Regions from separate parts of the Homo sapiens genome. Here all the other regions are linked to region 1. The links are contacts of gene promoters, found by promoter capture Hi-C in blood cells and fetal thymus (Javierre and others, 2016). All regions are on one chromosome and are shown on one strand. Each heading gives the region's core, a stretch centred on a gene start or on the middle of the fragment in contact. The rest is flanking DNA. Distances are from core to core; before and after follow the strand shown.

Region 1 (5,490 bases), core at 1,413-3,912:
ATAACAACAACAAAAAACCTAACAATAATAATGTGTTTTCTGAGGTTTAAGAGCATGCTAAAATAATAATGAAAGATGCATATAAACAAGGTTGTATAGACGAAAAAACTAAATCACAGGGAACTTATTTATTTTCTTCAAATTTGCACCAGAGAAACTGATAAAGGTGGGATTTAAATGTATACAAGCCAAACTGTAGATATTATGTGTTTGACCATAAAAGATCACAAAAAGGTGTTTGCTTTTTAACAATTACATCTACTATTTCCTCATATGGAACTTGAACTGTTAGCTGGTACACAAGTTATAGTGGTTTTTGCCATTACTTTAATTTTGTCATTTACTTTAATGGCAAAAACCGCAATGACTTTTGCACGAACCTGATACATTAAAAACGAGTTTCTTAAATGTTCAAACAAACAAGAGAGTGTCTCTTCAAAAGTCTCATCTAAAAAGTATGCTTTAAATTTATATGCAGAGTCTTTTTTTAATGGCTGCTTTTACCTCTTGATTTCTTAATGTATAAATAATAGGATTTAAGAGAGGTGTGAAAATTGTGTAAAACACAGAAAGAATTTTATCTACCGAGTATCTGCTGAAGGGCCAGACGTAGATAAAGACACACGGAGCAAAGAACAGAGTCACAACTGTGATGTGAGCTGAGAGAGTGGAGAAAGCCTTAGAGGATCGACTAGCAGCACGGTACCTAACTGAGAATATTATGACTCCATAGGAGACAAGCAAGAGGAGGAAGCAGACCAGTGACAGGAGCCCACTGTCAGCAATGACCAGGAGCTGTAGGATGTAGGTGTCCTTGCAGGCAAGTTTAATCACAAGGGGAAGGTCACAGAAAAAGCTGTCTATAACATTGGGACCACAGAAGGGCAAAGTCAACATGAAAGCCATTTGACTAGATGAGTGCACAAATCCAACTGCATAGGAGGATAACAGTAGCCCAGTGAGCACCCGTGGGCTCATGATGGTCATGTAATGGAGGGGTTTGCATATGGCAACATACCTGTCTATTGCCATGGCTACAAGCAACATCATCTCACTCCCACCCAGGAGGTGCATAAAGAACATCTGGGAATAACATCCCCACCATGAGATGGTCTTACGTTCTCGGAGGAAATCTACAATCATCTTAGGGGTAGCAAAAGAAGCCAGGATCATATCAATGCAGGAGAGGTTGCTAAGCAGAAAATACATTGGTGTGTGAAGGAGCGAATCAAAGGTCACAGTCACCAAGATGAGCAGGTTTCCTAACACAATCCCCACGAAGACCACAGAGAATCCCAAGAAGAATAAAATCTGAAGATTTTGAGATTTGGAAAGTCCCAACAAAATAAATTCCGATACCACTGAATGGTTTGCTCTTTCCATATCGTCAACTTTATCCCATAATGATCAAAATAAGTGAGAATAAGGGGTAGGGAAATGATGCATATTGGAAAGAAATGTTCATGTTGATGTCCACATTTGGTACTCAGTCAAGGCACTTGAACTTACAAGGACCCTTACTTTTGTGGAATTTTGTCAGTCAGTGATTTTACTAATGGCCCAGAGAAGTATCCCAAATAGTCAGTAGAATTCAGAATATAAGTTTCTGGAAGACAAAAATAAAAACATTAATAGTACATGAAACCACAAAACTATAGGTCATGAATTAGAATCAGAAGACCTCTACAGGACACCTGGGTAAGCTGCTCACTGGGTGACACAGGACAAGTAACTCTCCTTTTGAGGGTTTTCTTCTCAGTGAAAAAAAGAATTTGGACTATATGGTATCGAATGCCTCTTTCTGCTATAAAGATCTCTATGAATAAGATAATGATTCTGGTGAGTTTTATAGTCACAGAATAATATTGAGTTTTATTAATGTGGAAAGGATATCAAAAATACATCCAGGATTCTCAAGAACCATGTTTTGAAATGGACTCTGGTAAAGAAATATGAATTAGGTCCTGAGAAACTTACCTTATTTCCTCCATGCTCCATTCTTGCATGAATCCCTCACAGATCAGTATTAGCAGTAGTCACTACACACTTTTGAAGTGTCAAGTATATGTATAGTATATATATATTAAACATGTATATTACATACATTTCATATATTTATATATATTTATATAATTCGTTCATTCAACATTTCATATTATTCACATCAAATACCTCCTCTAGATGGTTAGACAATGTGTACAAACAACCCACAGTCAAATGTAATTGACTAATTTCACTTTCAGCTTGCATTCATTTATTCATTTACCTGGTTATTGCTATGTAGTGGTTAGCTGGTTGGCCTGTGTATGGTTGTCATAGGTTTCAAAATGACTTAGCTTGATGTAACATTTATGTTGGTAAAAGAAATACAGTTCTTTCAGTATAATCTAAATTTATGACAAAATTTGTCATCGGCTCATGCTTATTACAAACTGGTTCTATTGGTTCAGCTTTTAAAAAAATTGCCTCCGTTGCTAATAGTTTTAAATTAATCTAGGTCTTACAAAACACCTTCAGTAAATAAAGTATTTGTAGTCATCTTTTTGTGCTGTTATTACTTACAAGACAGGGGAAAAAAACTTTCGTGATGGCGTCGTACGTGAATCCCAGGAATGGCCTTTTATCTCCTTTTCCTGTATCCCCATCAGTTATCTGCAATTTACTCTTCCAATCATCAGAAACAGAAAAAATAGAGACCATAGTGCTATATGTTTCTATGAGATAATCCCATAGGAACACTTATCCAACTAGGGATGTATTTTTTTCCCTATGTAAACATATCTGTTGGCCAATTTCCCACTCTGAGAAACTTTGATGCAAAATATTAAATTTCATCAAATATGTAATTAGAGCCATTCATTTATATGTCTATAAAGGTAATAGCTCTCTTCAGTTTTATGACTAATATTTAAGAATTCCTACTAATGCTTCTTTTTGAAACCCAATTTTTGAAGCTGCATTTAAACAGAAGAGAACAATTTTCAAATACATACAAAGAAGTTTATAAATCCTCCACATCTGGAATAGTGCATATCAAAAACACTAAGTGAATATCTGTTGAATGAATAAACTATGTAGTGCATATTCAGGATCTAGATTAAGTCAGCTGACTTAATCCACAGAAAAATCCACAACATTAGGAATTTTAACAATATTTATTTTTAAATGTCAAATTGAATGTTGAAGTATTTTAAAATCAGAAATAGAACAGCCATTCTTAAAAAGCTGGTTAAAATATGTTTTTTTCTTTTAATTATCTTTTAAAAAAAAAGGTAGTTTATGCCAATGTGAAAAAAGCACATCACAGATAACAGAAAGACTGACTGAACATTTTAAGAGCTTCTTAGATAACTTTCCAGAAAAATAATACACACTTCAGTACAGTGTGTGTGTGTTAGTGTTACAGGTATTTATATTTATATCATTTTATTAAGACTGCAGATTATATATTATATGTATAGCTATTTTTCTTGAGTTTTTAACTTATTACATTTAAATATGTTTATATTAACATATAGAAACATAACTTTTTAATAGGTGTATAGAATTCCACTTTGTAGATGTTGCATAATGTAATCTCCCCACAAATACAGTTTATTCTTAGAATGAATTTAACATTACCTATAAAAATTATTTTTCATCATATCACTCTCTTCTTTATAAACCTGTGATAACTACCTTATCAATCCCTAACTTCTCCTGGATATTCATAATCAACTCCTCACCCACCCTAAAAATCCAATATTATTTTCTTTTTTTTTCTTTTTTTTTTTTTAATTATTATACTTTAAGATTTAGGGTACATGTGCACAATGTGCAGGTTAGTTACATATGTATACAAGTGCCCTGCTGGTGTGCTGTACCCACTAACTCGTCATCTAGCATTAGGTATCTCTCCCAATGCTATCCCTCCCCCCTTCCCCCACCCCACAACAGTCCCCAGAGTGTGACATTCCCCTTCCTGTGTCCATGTGTTCTCATTGTTCAATTCCCACCTATGAGTGAGAATATGCGGTGTTTGGTTTTTTGTTCTTGCGATAATTTACTGAGAATGATGATTTCCAATTTCATCCATGTCCCTACAAAGGACATGAACTCATCATTTTTTATGGCTGCATAGTATTCCATGGTGTATATGTGCCACATTTTCTTAATCCAGTCTATCATTGTTGGACATTTGGGTTGGTTCCAAGTCTTTGCTATTGTGAATAATGCCGCAATAAACATACGTGTGCATGTGTCTTTCTAGTAGCATGATTTATAGTCCTTTGGGTATAAACCCAGTAATGGGATGGCTGGGTCAAATGGTATTTCTAGTTCTAGATCCCTGAGGAATCGCCACACTGACTTCCACAATGGTTGAACTAGTTTACAGTCCCACCAACAGTGTAAAAGTATTCCTATTTCTCCAGATCCTCTCCAGCACCTGTTGTTTCCTGATTTTTTAATGATTGCCATTCTAACTGGTGTGAGGTGATATCTCATTGTGGTTTTGATTTGCATTTGTCTGATGGCCAGAGATGGTGAGCATTTTTTCATGTGTTTTTTGGCTGCATAAATGTCTTCTTTTGAGAAGTGTCTGTTCGTGTCCTTTGCCCACTTTTTGATGGGGTTTCTTGTTTTTTTCTTGTAAATTTGTTTGAGATCATTGTAGATTCTGGATATTAGCCCTTTGTCAGATGAGTAGGTTGTGAAAATTTTCTCCCATTCTGTGGGTTGCCTGTTCACTCTGATGGTAGTTTCTTTTGCTGTGCAGAAGCTCTTTAGTTTAATTAGATCCCATTTGTCAATTTTGGCTTTTGTTGCCATTGCTTTTGGTGTTTTAGACATGAAGTCCTTACCCATGCCTATGTCCTGAATGGTGATGCCTAGGTTTTCTTCTAGGGTTTTTTATGGTTTTAGGTCTAACGTTTAAGTCTTTAATCCATCTTGAATTAATTTTTGTATAAGGTGTAAGGAAGGGATCCAGTTTCAGCTTTCTCCATATGGCTAGCCAGTTTTCCCAGCACCATTTATTAAATAGGGAATCCTTTCCCCATTGCTTGTTTTTCTCAGGTTTGTCAAAGATCAGATAGTTGTAGATATGCGGCGTTATTTCTGAGGGCTCTGTTCTGCTCCATTGATCTATATCTCTGTTTTGGTACCAGTACCATGCTGTTTTGGTTACTGTAGCCTTGTAGTATAGTTTGAAGTCAGGTAGCATGATGCCTCCAACTTTGTTCTTTTGGCTTAGGATTGACTTGGCGATGCGGGCTCTTTTTTCGTTCCATACGAACTTTAAAGTAGTTTTTTCCAATTCTGTGAAGAAAGTCATTGGTAGCTTGATGGGGATGGCATTGAATTTATACATTACCTTGGGCAGTATGGCCATTTTCATGATATTGATTCTTCCTACCCATGAGCATGGAATGTTCTTCCATTTCTTTATATCCTCTTTTATTTCACTGAGCAGTGGTTTGTAGTTTTCCTTGAAGAGGTCCTTCACGTCCC
Region 2 (5,490 bases), core at 2,144-4,643, 57 kb after region 1:
AAGATCATCTGTACCCCAAATATCAGCAACACACAATTTATCCATGTAATAAATCTGCACATGTACCTCCTGAAACTAAAAGTTGAAAAAAAAGAAAATGAGAATCACTGAGTTATTTTAATATTTAATTTGCTTACTTATATTTTAATTTTCATAGTTTGAGTATTTGTTTTAATTCAGAAAACATTTAGGGATAGTCTACGACTATATCACCCTGAATGCAGCTGATTTTAGAAGCTAAGCAAGGTCAGGCCTGGTTAGTACTTGGATGGGAGAAAACAGTTGTGAATGACCAAATGAGATAAATGGCTAAATCAATTGATTCTTTTTTATTTCCCTTTACTCTCCACTTGTATTCTTGACTGAACACATATAACCTCTTAGTTAATGGAATTGTCTAGCCATACTGCTAATATATTCACTTTTTATAATTTTGCCACCCAAGTACTATCCCTTATTTTCTAAACCCACTAGCGCTTTTTAACCTACATCTAAAAGGGTTCTTTTTCTATTTTATTAACTTGATAAATATATCAGAACAAAGTTTTCTTGCACTTATAATGTTGAGAATATTTCTATTGAATATACAAGTGTATTACAATATTTATAGTGGTTATTTTGGCAGCAAATATAATTTTTTGCTTTCCAAACATTTTTCTTGGTGATAAGTGAACATTATCCATAGATTAATCCATATATGGCTTAACACTTTCATGAAAAGGAAACATAACAAAAACTTATGACCAATAGAAGCCATGCAGCCCTTGTTGTTATAAAAATAACTGTCAGTTATACCTTTCCACATATGCCAACTACTATTTTAGTGCTTTTGTAGAAATGTATTACTTGTTACCAAACATATGCCCACAGTACTGGACATCCTATTCTTTTCATTCTTAAATAAGCAACGAGTTAAAAGAAGTGTAGTAATGCTACATCTTTTAGCCACCTGAAAGGCACTGAAAGAGCTAGGTCCTCCAGTCATAAGCCATTCATCCCATTCTCAGACTGGGATGAAAATGCTAGAGAGTTACAAATGCTATTTGATCCAGAGAGAGAGAGAAATAAAATGCTATTTGATCCAATTTAATTCAGTTATTTTGTATTCCTTTTTAGTAAACTGTTAATTGTATAACATGTAATACTCAAAAATTAAAATTTTTTATTTGAAGTTTAACTGTGCCTTAAGGAGATCTGTTTTCTTTTGCTTTGTTTAACTTATTTTTAGCACTGATTTTAAAATGAACATTTTTTAAAATATTTAATCTTTGGCCATGTACACAAATTGTCATAATGAATGATTTTATCCATAACAATGTATTTTAATCCATTTAAATATAGACTTAGCTGGATATTTTTAAAAATATGCTTACAAAAATTCAAAAAAGCCTAAACAGTAATAAATATAATTTTATGGTCTTAATTTTCTTATTTTACATATTAAACTAAAAAAAATTACTGTGTGAGACTCCTCAAGAATTTCTCCTGTTAGTATTTGGAGATTAAAGGTGCATAATTTTGAAAAACAATTTCATACCTACTATGCAGATTCAATTACTGCCTGAAAGCAGATGCTAAAGATGATAATTTTAATCTTTTATAAAGTAGTCAACTACACAGTTCTACCAATTATATTTAATAGAGAAAAATAATTTCATTGACACTAAGTCTTCTTTACCATTCTTCCAAAGTAAAGTTCTGTGGTCCATATTGGTTTGGGTAACTTTATAGTTACCAGAAAATGGGGTAATTCTAAAGAATAGAATTTCATTAATGAACATGCATAGCACCTGTATGTATACGATTAAATGCATAAATATATTTCATATATGTTACCCTTTAGAACCTCCTACCAATCTGTGAGGTTAAAGATTGGGTATTATTTTATTTTTACAGGAAAAAATCCATGTTCAAAAGAGTTAGGAGTGTATTTCCCTATTAAATGCTGAGGCCAGGACTAGAATTTAAATGTTGGCATTTCAGGTTTTCCTTTTAACTTAGATATTTAAGCCAAATAATGTATTCTGAATATCTGATGAGCTATTAAGCCATGAAATTGAAATATAGAATAGATTTTCTTTTTTCTCTTCTGGTGCTCCAGAACTAGAATGTGGTATAAATATGTTCATTTGCATCTGTGTACGTCTCTTTTCTCTCTCTCTCTCTCCCCCTCTCTCTATGTGTGTGTGTGTATGTATGTGATGTTTACTAATAATTGTCATAAAAATAAAAGAGAAGGAAAAGGAAGCTAGGATTAAATTTCTGAATCAAATCTAAACGGAAGATATTAGGTTGGTGCAAAACCGCAATTACTTTTGCACCAACCTAGTGGAAGTGAGCCGAAAGTGTCAGCTCAATGTGGGAAGACATATAGAATACAAGTGTCAAGGATGTAAGAGCCAGTAAAATAGTCAGGAGGCAGTTTGCATGTGTGTGAAATATCAGAGGAAAGCACTGGGTACAGGAAGATATGCATTTAAAAGCCAAGGAAACACAAACATAAAGGATTGTTGGTTGCTCAGAGACTGTCTACAAAACACAGATTGCAAAGGGACAAGAAAGAAAGCACTCCAGCCAGGAGCCCAACAACATGAGATTCAGGAAAATAAGCAAGAGGTCTGCACAGTAATGGTAGGAGTTTTGTACAGTAACCAAATTATGACACAAAATACTACACTAAAAGAAAAAAAAATACATCTGGACCCTGGGAAACATTTTTGATTTTATCTAGAAACTTTCTAGAAAGTTAACATTTTAAAATAATTATAAAAGCATGGGGTGAACAGTAAGAACATATGCCAGACTGCAGCCAGCTTAAAGCTTCAGAAATAAGTGAAATCATTGGTATATCATTTGGGGATAAAAGAGAGAGGTAAGAGTATAGTATAGCAGATAGAAGAAAGTGCCATAAAATAATGTGTTAAACTGGGTGTATTAGTAAACTCACTTGCACATGTATGAATGCTTCAAATTAGAGAGAGGGAAAAGAATGAATACTAGGCACCAAAAAGCTAAGCAACTTTGCTCTTATCCACTCTTGGACTAACTCATTTGGCTAATAGTTATTTGACTAATTTTACTCATGGACCTATTGAACTCATGCATCAAGAACTCATGAACTCATCATAGAGACAATAAATGCACGTGGAGACAAAAATCTATGTCTGCAAACCATAATTACAGAATTTTATAATATATTTCTCATCTTTTGTGCCTTTCTGATTGAAGAAAATACAATAATGTCAATGACACTTGAATTAATTAAATTGTATTTTTCATATATGTTCATCTTCTCTCTTTCTGTAGGAATCAAATACTTTCTATATGTCCATATCTTCAAAATGGTCACAGGTAAAATTATAACTTTTTTCAGACTATCTTTATTTCAAATAGCTTTTGAAAACTACCAGATGGATATAAGAAACAGCTCAATAATAATCTGAGTTTGTTTTGTTAGAATTCATCAGCACTTGGGAACTTGAAATTTTGTTTCTTAAATATTTTTGTTGGCCTATGCAGCAATCATGGCAGGAAACCTCACTGCAATCGCTGTAACCTCCAATCCTCCCCTTTGCTCAACACCTATGTACTTCCTCCTTGGAAATCTCTCCTTTCTCAGTATGTTTATTTCCACAGTCACAATCTCTAAGATGGTCCAGACGTTCTCAGGGAGAATAAAACCACTTCCTCATGGGGCTGTATGGCTCAGATCTCCACTTCTTAGGAGGCAGTGAGATGACTCTTCTCATATTTATGGCTGTTGATCAGCACATTGCAATATGCAGACCTCTTCACTGCAGAACCATCACGAACTGCAGGGTACTCATGGCCACTCATGGGCTCTGTGCTGCTATCACGGGCTGTTGGTTTTGTGCATACTATAAGCCAGATTGTTTTTATTATCACCTTGCCCTTCTGTGGCCCCAGTGTGGTGGACAATTTATTTTGAGACCTTCCTCTAGTTCTGAAGCTTGCCTGCACTGAGACTTATGATCTGGAGTTGCTGGTAATTGCTAAAAGTGGACAGTTGTCTTTCATCTGCTTCATAGTCTTGCTCATTTTCTACACTATTATTCTGGTAACTGTGCAGCATCGATCCTCTGATGCACTCTCCAAGGCTCTGTCCACACTGTCTGCTCATATCACTGCAGTCACTCTATTTTTATGAGCCATGTGTCTACATTTACACTTGGCCATTTAGGAGCTTTTCAGTGGATACATTTCTTTCTGTGTTTTATTCAGTTACACCCTTACTGAACCCCATTACTTACAGTCTGAGATGAAAGCATCTATACATCAACTGAGGACCCAACACATCATCTCCAGACAAACCTTCTCTAATCAGCAATCATGAGGACAGGATATTAGTTCAGAACCCATATAAATTACGTTTCAGAATATGTTGATATTAATTTTATTTGTTGATTTCTATAAATAATATTGCATATATTGAAATTATCAAATATAATTTTTCATTATTATATTTCTATGGCATGTGTGGTTTTGTTGAAAATATAATTATCAGCCTGGGAACTCCATTACTGGGTATATACCCAAAGGAATATAAGCCATTCTATTATAAAGATACATGCATGCATATGTTCATTGCAGCACTATTGACAATAACAAAGACATGGAGTCAACCTAATTTCCCATCAATGAGAGACTGGGATTTAAAAAATGTGGTATATATACACCATAGGATACTATAGAGCCATAAAAAAGCAATGAGATCATGTCCTTTGTAAGGACATGGATGGAGATGGAGGCCATTATCCTTAGCAAACTAACACAGGAACAGAAAACCAAACACTGCATGTTCTCACTTAAAAGCAAAAGAGAACACATGGACACATAGAGGGGAACAACACACACTGGGCCTTTTGGAGGGTGGAGGGTGGGAGGAGGGAGAAAATCAGGAAACAAAACTAATGAGTACTAGGCTTAATACCTGAGTGATGGAATAATCTGTACAACAAACCCCCATGACATAAGTTCACCTATGAAACAAACCTGCACTTGTACCCCGACCTTAAAATATTTTTGAAAAAAAAAGCATAGTTATTTTCATTAACTTTCAATTCAAATTTGGGTTAATAAATTACTTTCAAAATATAATAAAAAGTTAACTAGAAAAACTGGCTTCTTAACTATATTTAGAGACTCCATGTATCTAAGACTTTCCTTAAATAAGAGAAATCAAATATAAATTTGTCTACTTTTAACTAGTAATCTTTCAGCCAAATTCTCTAAATGACCAAATGTAAACAAAGTTGTGTGAACTCTTATAAACCCACAAGCATGAACACACACACTTACATTTTTGTGCCCCTAATATGTGAAAGGATTATTATTTTTTAACAAGGCAGACAGGCTAGTTTTTATGAGTATATAGATGCATATAGTTACTGTAATCCACTGACATGAAGCATACACTTCTTCACTCTAAAGAGAAATTTCACCTGACAAAAAATTACACATAGAACATTT
Region 3 (5,490 bases), core at 2,072-4,571, 39 kb after region 1:
ACCACCATATTTCTAACTTTTGACCATAAGCTATTGAAAGCAGAATAATGGTCTCCCAATGAAGTCCAGACCCTAATCCCAAAACTTGTGAGTATGATACATTACAGTGCAAAAAAAAAAAAAAAAAAAAAAACAGAGAGAAAAAAAAAGAAAAACCACCAACAACAACAAACTTCGCTTATGTGATTTAGTTCACAAACTTTGATATGAGAAGATTTCCTGGAATATTTGAATGTGTCCAGTGTAATAACATGAATTTCTAAAAGTGATAAAGCTTTCCTGTCAGTATAGAAAAAGAGAGTCATGGCAGAAGAGAAGGCCTTTTTTTTTTTTTTTTTTTTTGAGACAGAGTCTTGGCAGTGGCACGATCTTGGCTCACTGCAACCTCCACCTCCCAGGTTCAAGCACCTGCCTCAGCCTCCTGAGTAGCTGGGATTACAGGCGCCCACCACCACATGGGCTAATTTTTTGTATTTTTAGTAGAAACGGGGTTTCACCGTGTTAGCCAGAATGGTCTCAATCTCCTGGCCTCCTGATCCACCCGCCTCAGCCTCCCAAAGTGCTGGGATTATAGGCACGAGCCACCGTGCCCGGCTGGGGATGAGCCTTTCAAAGGGTCCCGTCCACTGTTAATGGCTTAAAAGAGGAAGGGGATCATGACAAAGGAAGATCAGATAGTATCTAAATATTAAGGATAACCCTTGAATGGCAACCAGCAAAGAAATGGAGATGTCAGTCCTACAATCACACAGAGTGAAATCCTGCCCACAACCTGTCCACAGTCCTGGAAATGAATTCCCCCAAAGTCTCTAGAAAAAAATTTAATCCTGTTGATGCCTTGATTTTAGCCTAGTGAGATTCATATTTAACTTCAACCTACTGGACTGTAAAATGATGAATTTGTGTTGCTTGAAGCAAATAAATTTGTATAATTTGCTAGGAAAGAAATAGAAAACTAACACGACCCCACACTTGGCCTGTGGTGAGAGTGCCTCTTCTCTTGTTCCTACAGCTTAGATGTGATAGTGGCTTCCATTTGATAGTCATCTTTGGTTTCTCTGAACATATCCTGTTCAACATCTTAGCTATTCCATCGCTTGAGTAGCTAAATAACCTGTTTGAAATACTCAGAGTTATTTTTCTTTTCTCAATTAGACCCCAGAAATTACAGAGTTGGGCAGAGGCAAAGGGCATAACTCTCTACTGAGTCAGCTCCAATACAAATTTCATCAAAGAGCTACCCAATAATATAGGGGTTTTTTTGGAATTTGCTCCTTCTAAGTTTAAGGTAGACTGTATAGTATACTCTAACTGAATTTAGGTGTCTCTTACCAAGGAAGAATAAGAGAATGACCTTTCAGAGGACACTACTAGTCTCTGGGACACAGTTAATGCTCATTGCTAAACTAGTCTCTGGTGAGTGAAGTGAAAGCACTTTGATTGTCCTAGACAGATGTCTTATGAAAAAGATTTGATCCTCCATGGAAGCACATAGTCAGCCTATCCCAGAGAATATATGGTTTCAATTACCAAGAAAGAAGAAAGAATCATTACTGGGAAACCAACGAGTTCTACCATAGCCAGTTATCACCATTGGTATTCAATATTGCTCAAAAATTTCAAGTTAATGAAATAAGGTAATAAAATAATAGTAGAGAAATATTTTAATGTGAATATTATCTATCTTATCAATAATACAAAAAATAGAAGAGAACCAATTAGAAAAATATTGAACATGAGATTTGATTCCATTTACCACTTAAATATATATATATATAAAACATTTACAGATAACAATAGCAATAAGATGAATTAATATAAAGAGAAAAATCATATTAAGTATAGCATCAAAGTAGGAAATACGCAAATTTTATTTAACCACAAATATGTTACAAAAACATTGCTGACAAAATGAAGATGACAAAACTTTTCTGTGAGCCATAAAAGAAGACAAAAATTTTAAGAACACAAAAACAATGACAAAAATGAATAGATCTAAAAAGTAGCCAGACTTATCTCCAATTTAAATAAATATAAAGGGAGCATTATCCGTTTTCTTTCTTTTTTATTTATTTATTTATTTTTTTTGACAGAGTTTCACTCTTGTTGCCCAGGCTGGAGTGTAATGGTGCAATGGTGCCATCTCAGCTTACTGCAACCTCTGCCTCCCGGGTTCAAGCGATTCTCCTGCCTTGGCCTCCCCAGTAGCTGGGATTACAGGTACCTGCCACCACGCCTGGCTAATTTTTTGTATTTTGAGTTGAGATGGGGTTTCACCATGTTGGCCAGGCTGGTCTCGAACTCCACATGCCTCAGCCTCCTAAAGTGCTGGGATTACAGGCATGAGCCACCGCACCTGGCCAGAGCATTATACATTCTTAATAAAATGAATTATTTAATTGTAATAATAAAAACTCATATCCTATCATTTATTAATTTCAGACAAGTTAGAATTAAACGTGAAAAATTTATCATAATAAATTTTATAATTAATGTAATCTAGAATGAGTGACATCGCCAAGATGAAGGAGTAGGAGATACCAGTATTTATCCTCCCCACAGAAAAACAAACATAGACAGCTATGCACAAACCAAAATAGTTCTGAGAAAGCTTAAGGGCCCACTAAATAATCTACAGAAATATAATGGAGCAAAAAGTCAAGAATATCCTCACAGAAAAGATTTCTGGTGAGATCAGCAAACTTAAGACATGAAGAGATGGCAAAGGACAAAAAAAAGGCAGAGGTTATCACTGTCAGCCATGCAGCAAGAACTATGGTCCCAAAGGCCTTCTCTTCAGAAAACATTGGCATCTTTTGCCACTGAGGCAACCAACAGCCATTCTTGCTGGGAAACTCTAAAGAGTTAGATGCAGCCACACACCTTAACCCCCTCAAGACACAGTCATTGTTGTGCCCCTTCAGATGGGACTCATCATCTCTCCCTATATCCTGTCAATACTGTGCATACCTATGCTTCTGTTCTTTGTACCTTGTTTGCTTCACAAGCACCTGTGCCTTACATGTTGTTATGAACATGACAATGAGGGCATGTGCACCCTGGGTACCACTGCCTATACCACCCTACACCCCAGAGCCATAGTCCCTCTACATGTGCTCATGCTTCAGGCCTCAGCTCCACAGTCACTTCATGGTTAGCACTCATCAGAAACTGGTGCCACTGTCCCTGGAGTGGGCCCACAAATTGGACACAGTGTCAAGGGGGATCCCTTCAGCCACAACTTTCCCAGTAGGAGATACAGACATTGGAAGGACCTTAGCAGCAATTGCCAATGAAGACCACATCAGTCATTCAATGGTACTGTGAACATGTACAGTATTGCCTGTCAAGAATCCTTGTGATCTTCATTAATACTGACCACAACTAATAGAGATGCCCTGGAATTCACAGCTGCTTCTTCACTGGTGTTAGAACCAGTGCCCTTGCACCCTTCTCTTCATAGGGGAAGGTTTTTCCACACCAAAATGAACTCATAAAGTCAAAAAGAGGTGACTGTTTTACCAAATGTGTAGACCTCAATGCAAGGCATCAATAAACATAAAAAGCCAAGGAGACATATAACCACCAAAAAAGAAATTCAATAATTTTCCTGGAGCTGATGCCCCAAAATGGGGATATATGAATGGCTTGACAAAGATTTTATAATTGTATTTATGAGGGAGCTAAGAGAATGTCAAGAAAATACAGAGGAAAGTTGATTAAAAATCAGGAAACAAACAAAATTAGAAACTTAACTGAGAGATTAAAAATACAAAAAAAAAAACCTAGAAATTCTGAAGCCAAAAAATATAGCTAATGAATGTAAAATGCAACAGAGAACATTAAGAGCAGAGTTAAGCAAAATAATCTATGAACCTGAAGATAGTGTATTTGAAAATATATAGTCAGAAGAGACAAAATTTCAAAAATCAAAAAATAAAGAAAGGTTATGGGATTTAAGGGATCACATCAAGAAGGCAACTATTTGAATTGTAGGAGATAAAGAAGGAGAAAAGAGTGGCAAAGGGACAGAAAGCTTATTTGAAGAAATAGTACCTAAAAGCTTTCCAAATCTAGGGAAAATAGAAGCATTCAGGTTTGGATACTCAAATGTCTTCCAAAACATTCAGTCCAAAACGAGACTATACCAAGACATGTTATAATCAAACTTTCAAAAACGAATTATGAAGAGACAATCCTGAAAGCAACAAGAGAAAACAAACATATCACACGTAAGGAAGTTTCAGTGAGGCTAACAGATTTCTCTGCAGATACCTTGTAGGCCAGAAGAGAATAGGATGATATATTTAAAGTGCTGAATGAAAGAAACTTTCAAATGAAGAATAGTTCACCCAGCAAAACTTTCCCTCAGACACGAAGAAGAGATAAAGACTATCCCAGAAAAACAAGAGCTAAGGAATTTCATTACCACCAAATCTTTTTTATAAGAAACATGAATGGGAGTTCTTTGAGCATAAGAAAGGACAGCTTTTAGTAACATGAAAACATATTAAAGAAGAAACCTCATTGTTAAAACTAGGTACACAGTCAAATTTAGAACTCTAACACTGTAATGCTAGTGTGTAAATCACTTATTTAGTATGAAGGTTAAAAGATTTAAAAAATCAAAATAATACGTACAATAATTTTTAAGGCATATACATACAAAATATGTAAACTGTGACATCAGAAACAGAAAATGTGTTGTGGAGAGGAAGAGTAAAATTGTAGAGGTTCTTTATGCAAACAAAGTACAATTGTTAGCGTAAAATAGGCCATTATAACTATAAGATGTTTTATGTAAGCCTTATGGTTACCACAAAACAAAAACTCTTAATAGATACACACACGCAAAAAAGTAAGGATTCAAAGCATATCACTATGCTTTATATATATAATAGATCTTATATATTGTATTATGTCTTAATATATGTCATAGTATATAAAATCTTACATTATATATATATTACATATATTATGCACATATTTATATATATAGAGAGAAATCTAATTATAAATAAAGACAGCAAGGGAGGAAAAAAAGGAAAATAAGATCAACAAAATAACCAGAAAATGATGAACAAAACGGCAATAATACATCCTTATTTATTCATATTAACCATAAATTTAAATAAATAAAATTCTTTAATCAAAAGACAAAGTAGCAGAATGGATTTAAAAAACAAACTAGTCCCAACTATTTGTTGCCTACAAGATATTGACTTCAACTTTAAGAACACACATAGACTGAAAACAAAGGAATTGGAAAAGATATTCTATGCCAATGCAAATCAAAGAGAGAAGGAGTAGCTATTCTTACATGATGTAAGATAGCCTTTTAGTCAAAAACTATAAAATGAGACAAAATCTGTGTAATGATAAAGATATCAGTGTACCCAGAAGACATAAGAACTGTAAGTATATATGCACCCATTAGCAGAGCACCTAAACATATAAAGCAAATATTAGTAGGTCTGAAGAGAAAGATAG
Region 4 (5,490 bases), core at 946-3,445, 36 kb before region 1:
GTAAACTCTGTTACAACAGTGGTGGTATTGTAAATTGATACAACTGTATCTGAAGAATGTTTTATAGTTTCTTATCAAATTAGATATACATCTACTTTAGGATTGAAAAGTTACACTCCTAGTGTACATCCATCAGAAATGAATACAATGTCCATCAAAATATGTACAGGAATGTTCATAAAAGCTTTTTTTGTATTAGCCAAAAATGAGAAACTACCCAAATATCCAGCAACAGTACAATGTATAAACAGTCGTATGCTTAAATAATGGAAGAAATAATAAAGATTGTTAGTAATAAAAATGTATAATGACACACGCAATAACTAGAATAAATTTCAGTCATAATGTCAAATCAAAGTAATCAACACACATAGAAAGGGTATATATTTTATAATCCCATTTATACAAAGTTCAAACACAGGCAAAATTAATCAAAGGCGATAGAGGTTATAAAAGAGGTTAGCTTTAGGCGTTTTGTTGGGAGGAGTGAGGAAGTCATCTGAGGCATTGTTAATGTTCTGTCTCCATCTGGTTGGAAGTTTACATAAGCAAAAATTCAATCAGCTGTAAATTTAGGTTTGCAATAAATGTTTCAAACATTTGTATTGTTTAATATTTTTGAAGTCTAGAGAACTTTCATACATTAATAAAGAAAATATGATAAACATTCAGAAATTAAAGTGATGAACATGCAATTTTTAGAATTAAAATATGTGTGACTAATAAAAATCTGAAAAGATGTTCATCCACAGTGCTGCTGAGGCAAATGCAAACTAAAATGTACTATCATTATTATACATCATATTTGAAAAATTATCATTAAAATTGAAGAATGATATTATCTAGTGTAGGAAAGAATATGAAAATAGCATCACATACATGGCTCATGGAAGTATACATTACTACAGTTTTTTGGGGGAGAAATACCTGTCCACATTTGTCTCAGAAATTTTACTTTCAGCCTCTGTCTCTTACATATACTGAATAGCAGTCTGAAGAAATATGAACAAATTGTTCACTGTAGAATCTTTTATTATAATGATAAAATAGATGATCTACAACCCCATTGATAGAATATTTTATTATAACATACCATATTTGATGGTTTTATTATCATATATCAGTTAAAAATAATTAGAACTATAGCCAGGAGTGGTGGCATGGGCCTGTAATCCCAGCTACTCAGGAGGCTGAGGCAGGAGAATTGCTTGAACCTGGGAGGTGGAGGTTGCAGTGAGCCAAGATGGGGCCACTGCACTCCAGCCTGGGGGACAGAGAAAGACTCCATCTAAAAAAAATTAGTAATAATAATTAGAGCTGAATATAGCACACGAAATCACATCCACGGTATATTACTGTATTGAGGAAAGCCTTTCTCGCTCTTTCTCTTCCCTCTCTTCCCCTCTCAGTGGTATAGAGGCAGAAAAAGAACAAAGTGGAAACTTTTATATTTACTTAAGACATTTTTGTAATATTAAACAAAATTAAATTAAATCTAACGTCAATAATTCTGATTAGAAAAGGTACTCCAGATAAAGCAGTACAAGCAAAGGTGTACTGGTAGAAGAAATGCAAGGCCCTTCAAGCCAAATTTTCCTTAATGTTTCATCACCCTTTCCACTAACCTCAGCCATGTGGGCCAGGGGGACCCTTACCTCTCTATAAAATCCAGCTGACATTATTACAACTCTCAGATCTTCTTTTCCTCTTCTATTAATTGCTTTCTACCCTCACATCCCATATATTTTTATGTTTCATAATTTCTGAAAAAGGATTGATTAAAAATTTTTAATGATTTCCTTTGTGATTTGACTGTGAGTAGCTGAATCTTGAAATCCCTAAACATCAAAATTTCGTAATGGTGGCCAGTGTAACCAGGGGTTTTCATCTTAATTCATTAATTTTCTTGGTCTATAATATCTAGGATGGTTGTATACTGTTAATGTGCCAGGAGTCCATGACTGCAGGACCTAAGAATTTACAGACAAGAAGGTATGTAATTTGACTTAAAATCTATTATACTGACAGCCTTTCTTCATGCTCCTGTCATCAGGGCCTACCTGCAGAAGTAGTATTCAATGCTAATTGTGCTCTTTTTCAATATAATATTGTCTATGCAATGTTATATTGTGTAAATCAAACAATGCATTTTTAAAAGGTTTTAAGAGTATATGGCTAGCAAAATTAACAATCTTTGCTTCTGAGAATTGGGAAGATAATTATTTTCTTCATGTTTTTCATGATTCTGAAAGTGAGATTATTTGATGTTATATCTAGACAACTTTTACTCTCAAAACAAGTTAAATGGATTATAATTAAGAGAAATTATTACCTGAAATGTTAAGTAATAATTAAGTTGCAGAAAGAGAAAAAATCCATTTTTTGGATTTTTGTATATAAGAATAAAATGTCATAAACCCTACAGATATGCATAGGAACTCTCAGTAGGTAAGAAGAAAGTCTCAATTGTTAAGGTGAATTTTTATAAATATTTTATTGCCTTTACATGTAGTCTAGTGTCTTATATAATTTAACTTTTCTGTATATATAGATTGTATCATATTTTAAGTATAGTTTTGTGTCCTGTTTTTTCTTTTATTATGTGACCATTTTCTAAAGTTAATAAATATTTTTTAAACACCAGTTCAACAAACTAATATTTAAATTTGGAAGTTTTACCTCATAGTGTCTTGATATTTTTAACTCTTACATATAATTGATGTAATCTTTATATTTACATCATTGCCTTAAATAAGGAATATGTAAATTTTATTATTTTTAAGCTAACTTTTGTTTAGTTTAAAATTATTTTTTTAATATTTTTATCCTCGTCGATTTGCCTAAATGAAAGTATACCGTTTATAGATTTAACAGTGGCATAAACTAAAATAAGGTGAATAAAATTCAATATTTAAACTATAAATTGCTATCTAACTATTATGTCTTAAGTCTTCAAAATGTTGCTCTGTGTATGGCACAACTTAACTATAGAATTTGAGTGAATAACAGCTATCACAAAACACCAAAAACACCCCTCCCCGCAGTTCTCCGTGGACCATCACCCATTTCAACTCATACAGTAGCATGTTCCAGCTATTGTTTATGTAAATGGAAAAAATATACACAACATACAAATTGCTATTTTTATCTCAGAGAAATAGTTGATTTTTATTTGATTTGATAGACTAGTCAAAGGAGAGTCATTTCAATGCATGAATAACCATTTTATAATTATATTTAGATCATTATAAGCATAATGTGTACCTATATGCCCACAGGTATGATTTAAGATAAGAAATATATCATTTACAATAATAAACTGGAAATAAGTGTATTATAGAATATGGTAAGCTGAAGAGGCATATCAAAGAAAATATACTAAGAGGTCATTGAACTAGCAATAATCCCAAGTGGAATGTGATCTTTCCTGTAGCTATGTGCACAGGTTAGAGTCCTACAAGAGTTTTCTTGATGGCAAAGGGTACAGGGATTCCCTTTTCTCAAATAAAAGCTCTACAGATCTAATGTCCATTTACTGGAATCTGAAATTCTACCTTTGATTTTATTTTTTCCCCAAATATTCTTATTAAAAAAAAATTTCAGAAAAATATAACATTTCTTGAGACTGAATGTGGAAAAGGAGAGAGAAGTAATGTGTTGAATGTTGGAAGACAGAAATGCATCATGTGGAAGTTAGTAGCTTGGAGCCAGGTAACTTCATGTTCTAATCAACCTTGGCCATGTCATCAGTGTCTTGAGGTTGCAGCTGGTGAAATAATATACATTTATATTAGGTAAGGAGAAAATAATTTCTTCCAGCTAATTAATCAGGATGTATCTTAGAGGATGAAAAATCTCTCTTTTGAAATGAGCAGAGTCTTGTATTTGATATGAATTACCTCATTCATTTTAAATGTCACTAATGCCCTATTGTTTAATCTCTTTGATCTAGGTAGAGCCAGATCAAATGGATAAAAACCAAACAGAAGTGATGAGAGAATTTTTCTTGTCAGGGTTCTCACAGACACCATCTATTGAAGCAGGGCTATTTGTACTATTTCTTTTCTTCTATATGTCCATTTGGGTTGGCAATGTCCTCATCATGGTCACAGTAGCATCTGATAAATACCTGAATTCATCACCCATGTATTTCCTTCTTGGCAACCTCTCATTTCTGGACCTATGTTATTCAACAGTAACGACCCCTAAGCTTCTGGCTGACTTCTTTAATCATGAAAAACTCATTTCCTATGACCAATGCATTGTGCAACTCTTCTTCCTGCATTTTGTAGGGGCAGCTGAGATGTTCCTGCTCACAGTGATGGCGTACGATCGCTATGTTGCAATCTGTCGCCCGCTGCACTACACCACTGTCATGAGTCGGGGGTTATGCTGTGTGTTGGTTGCTGCCTCCTGGATGGGAGGATTTGTGCACTCCACTGTCCAGACCATTCTCACTGTCCATCTACCCTTTTGTGGGCCAAATCAGGTGGAAAACTTTTTTTTGTGATGTTCCCCCTGTCATCAAACTTGCTTGTGCTGACACTTTTGTCATTGAATTGCTCATGGTATCTAACAGTGGGTTGATCTCCACCATCTCCTTTGTGGTGCTGATTTCCTCCTACACCACTATCCTAGTCAAGATTCGCTCCAAGGAAGGAAGGCGAAAGGCACTCTCCACGTGTGCCTCTCACCTCATGGTGGTAACACTGTTTTTTGGACCCTGTATTTTCATCTACGCTCGTCCTTTCTCTACATTTTCTGTGGACAAGATGGTGTCTGTACTCTACAATGTTATTACCCCAATGCTAAACCCCCTCATCTACACACTTCGGAACAAAGAGGTAAAGTCAGCCATGCAGAAGCTCTGGGTCAGAAATGGGCTTACTTGGAAAAAGCAGGAGACATGAGACATTGATATGAATTTTTGAAAGTAGAAAATCTGAGGTTAAAATAATAACTTTTCAAATAATGAGTTAGAAGGTGGTTGCCTAGTTTTTAAATTTATTTCATTAAATCAAAATAGCCCTATTATTGACTTTATCATTCAACTGTACACTATAACTAATCTGTTTACTTTTTTATTCAATCAAATCTGATTTTTCTATCAGATTGTCTTTTTCCTCTTATGTATTCACCTCATCAAATTTTATTCCATCCAGTATTTCCATTTAGTTTGTCATTTGGCACTGGTACAAACCACTTTTTCTAAGCCTTCACTGCCTTCTCTACCTTGCTTTATTTGTTTTTCTTCAATTTTAACTTATTACAACTACAGATGGTCCCTGAGTTATGATGATTCACCTTATAATTTTTTGTCTTTAAGATGGTGTACAAACCATACTTTGATTACTCATGTAACCATTTTGTTTTTCACTTTCCGCACAGCATTCCATAAATTACATTCAACTCTTTATTATTATAAAATTTGCTTTGTGTTAGATGATTTTGTCTAACTGTAGACCAGTGTCAATGTTCTGGGCATGTTTG

What was found. Contacts are between HindIII fragments. The CHiCAGO score rates a contact against its expected background, and 5 or more counts as called.
Region 2: a fragment that was not itself captured here is called in contact with the fragment with the promoter of OR4K13 in region 1 in 4 of 17 cell types (naive B cells, neutrophils, fetal thymus and 1 more); the score reaches 6.5 in naive B cells.
Region 3: a contact is called between a fragment that was not itself captured here and the fragment with the promoter of OR4K13 in region 1, in 5 of 17 cell types (fetal thymus, M2 macrophages, naive B cells and 2 more). The highest score is 6.3, in fetal thymus.
Region 4: a contact is called between a fragment that was not itself captured here and the fragment with the promoter of OR4K13 in region 1, in 2 of 17 cell types (fetal thymus and neutrophils). The highest score is 7.1, in fetal thymus.

Annotation. Positions count from the first base shown.
Region 1 is chr14:20,033,376-20,038,865 of GRCh38, forward strand. It overlaps OR4K13 (olfactory receptor family 4 subfamily K member 13), which reads right to left and starts at 2,663. Exons shown (of 2, transcript NM_001004714.2): 1 at 2,563-2,663; 2 at 1-1,606. The coding sequence starts at 1,383. The coding sequence ends at 469. The HindIII fragment of the contact is 9,053 bases long and covers 1-5,490 here.
Region 2 is chr14:20,089,934-20,095,423 of GRCh38, forward strand. It overlaps the pseudogene RNA5SP380 and the pseudogene OR4T1P. Among named protein-coding and RNA genes, the nearest start is that of OR4K17, 18 kb to the right of the region's middle. The HindIII fragment of the contact is 1,150 bases long and covers 2,819-3,968 here.
Region 3 is chr14:20,071,543-20,077,032 of GRCh38, forward strand. No RefSeq gene overlaps it. Among named protein-coding and RNA genes, the nearest start is that of OR4L1, 14 kb to the left of the region's middle. The HindIII fragment of the contact is 1,425 bases long and covers 2,610-4,034 here.
Region 4 is chr14:19,998,196-20,003,685 of GRCh38, forward strand. It overlaps the pseudogene OR4Q2. Among named protein-coding and RNA genes, the nearest start is that of OR4K14, 18 kb to the right of the region's middle. The HindIII fragment of the contact is 4,026 bases long and covers 183-4,208 here.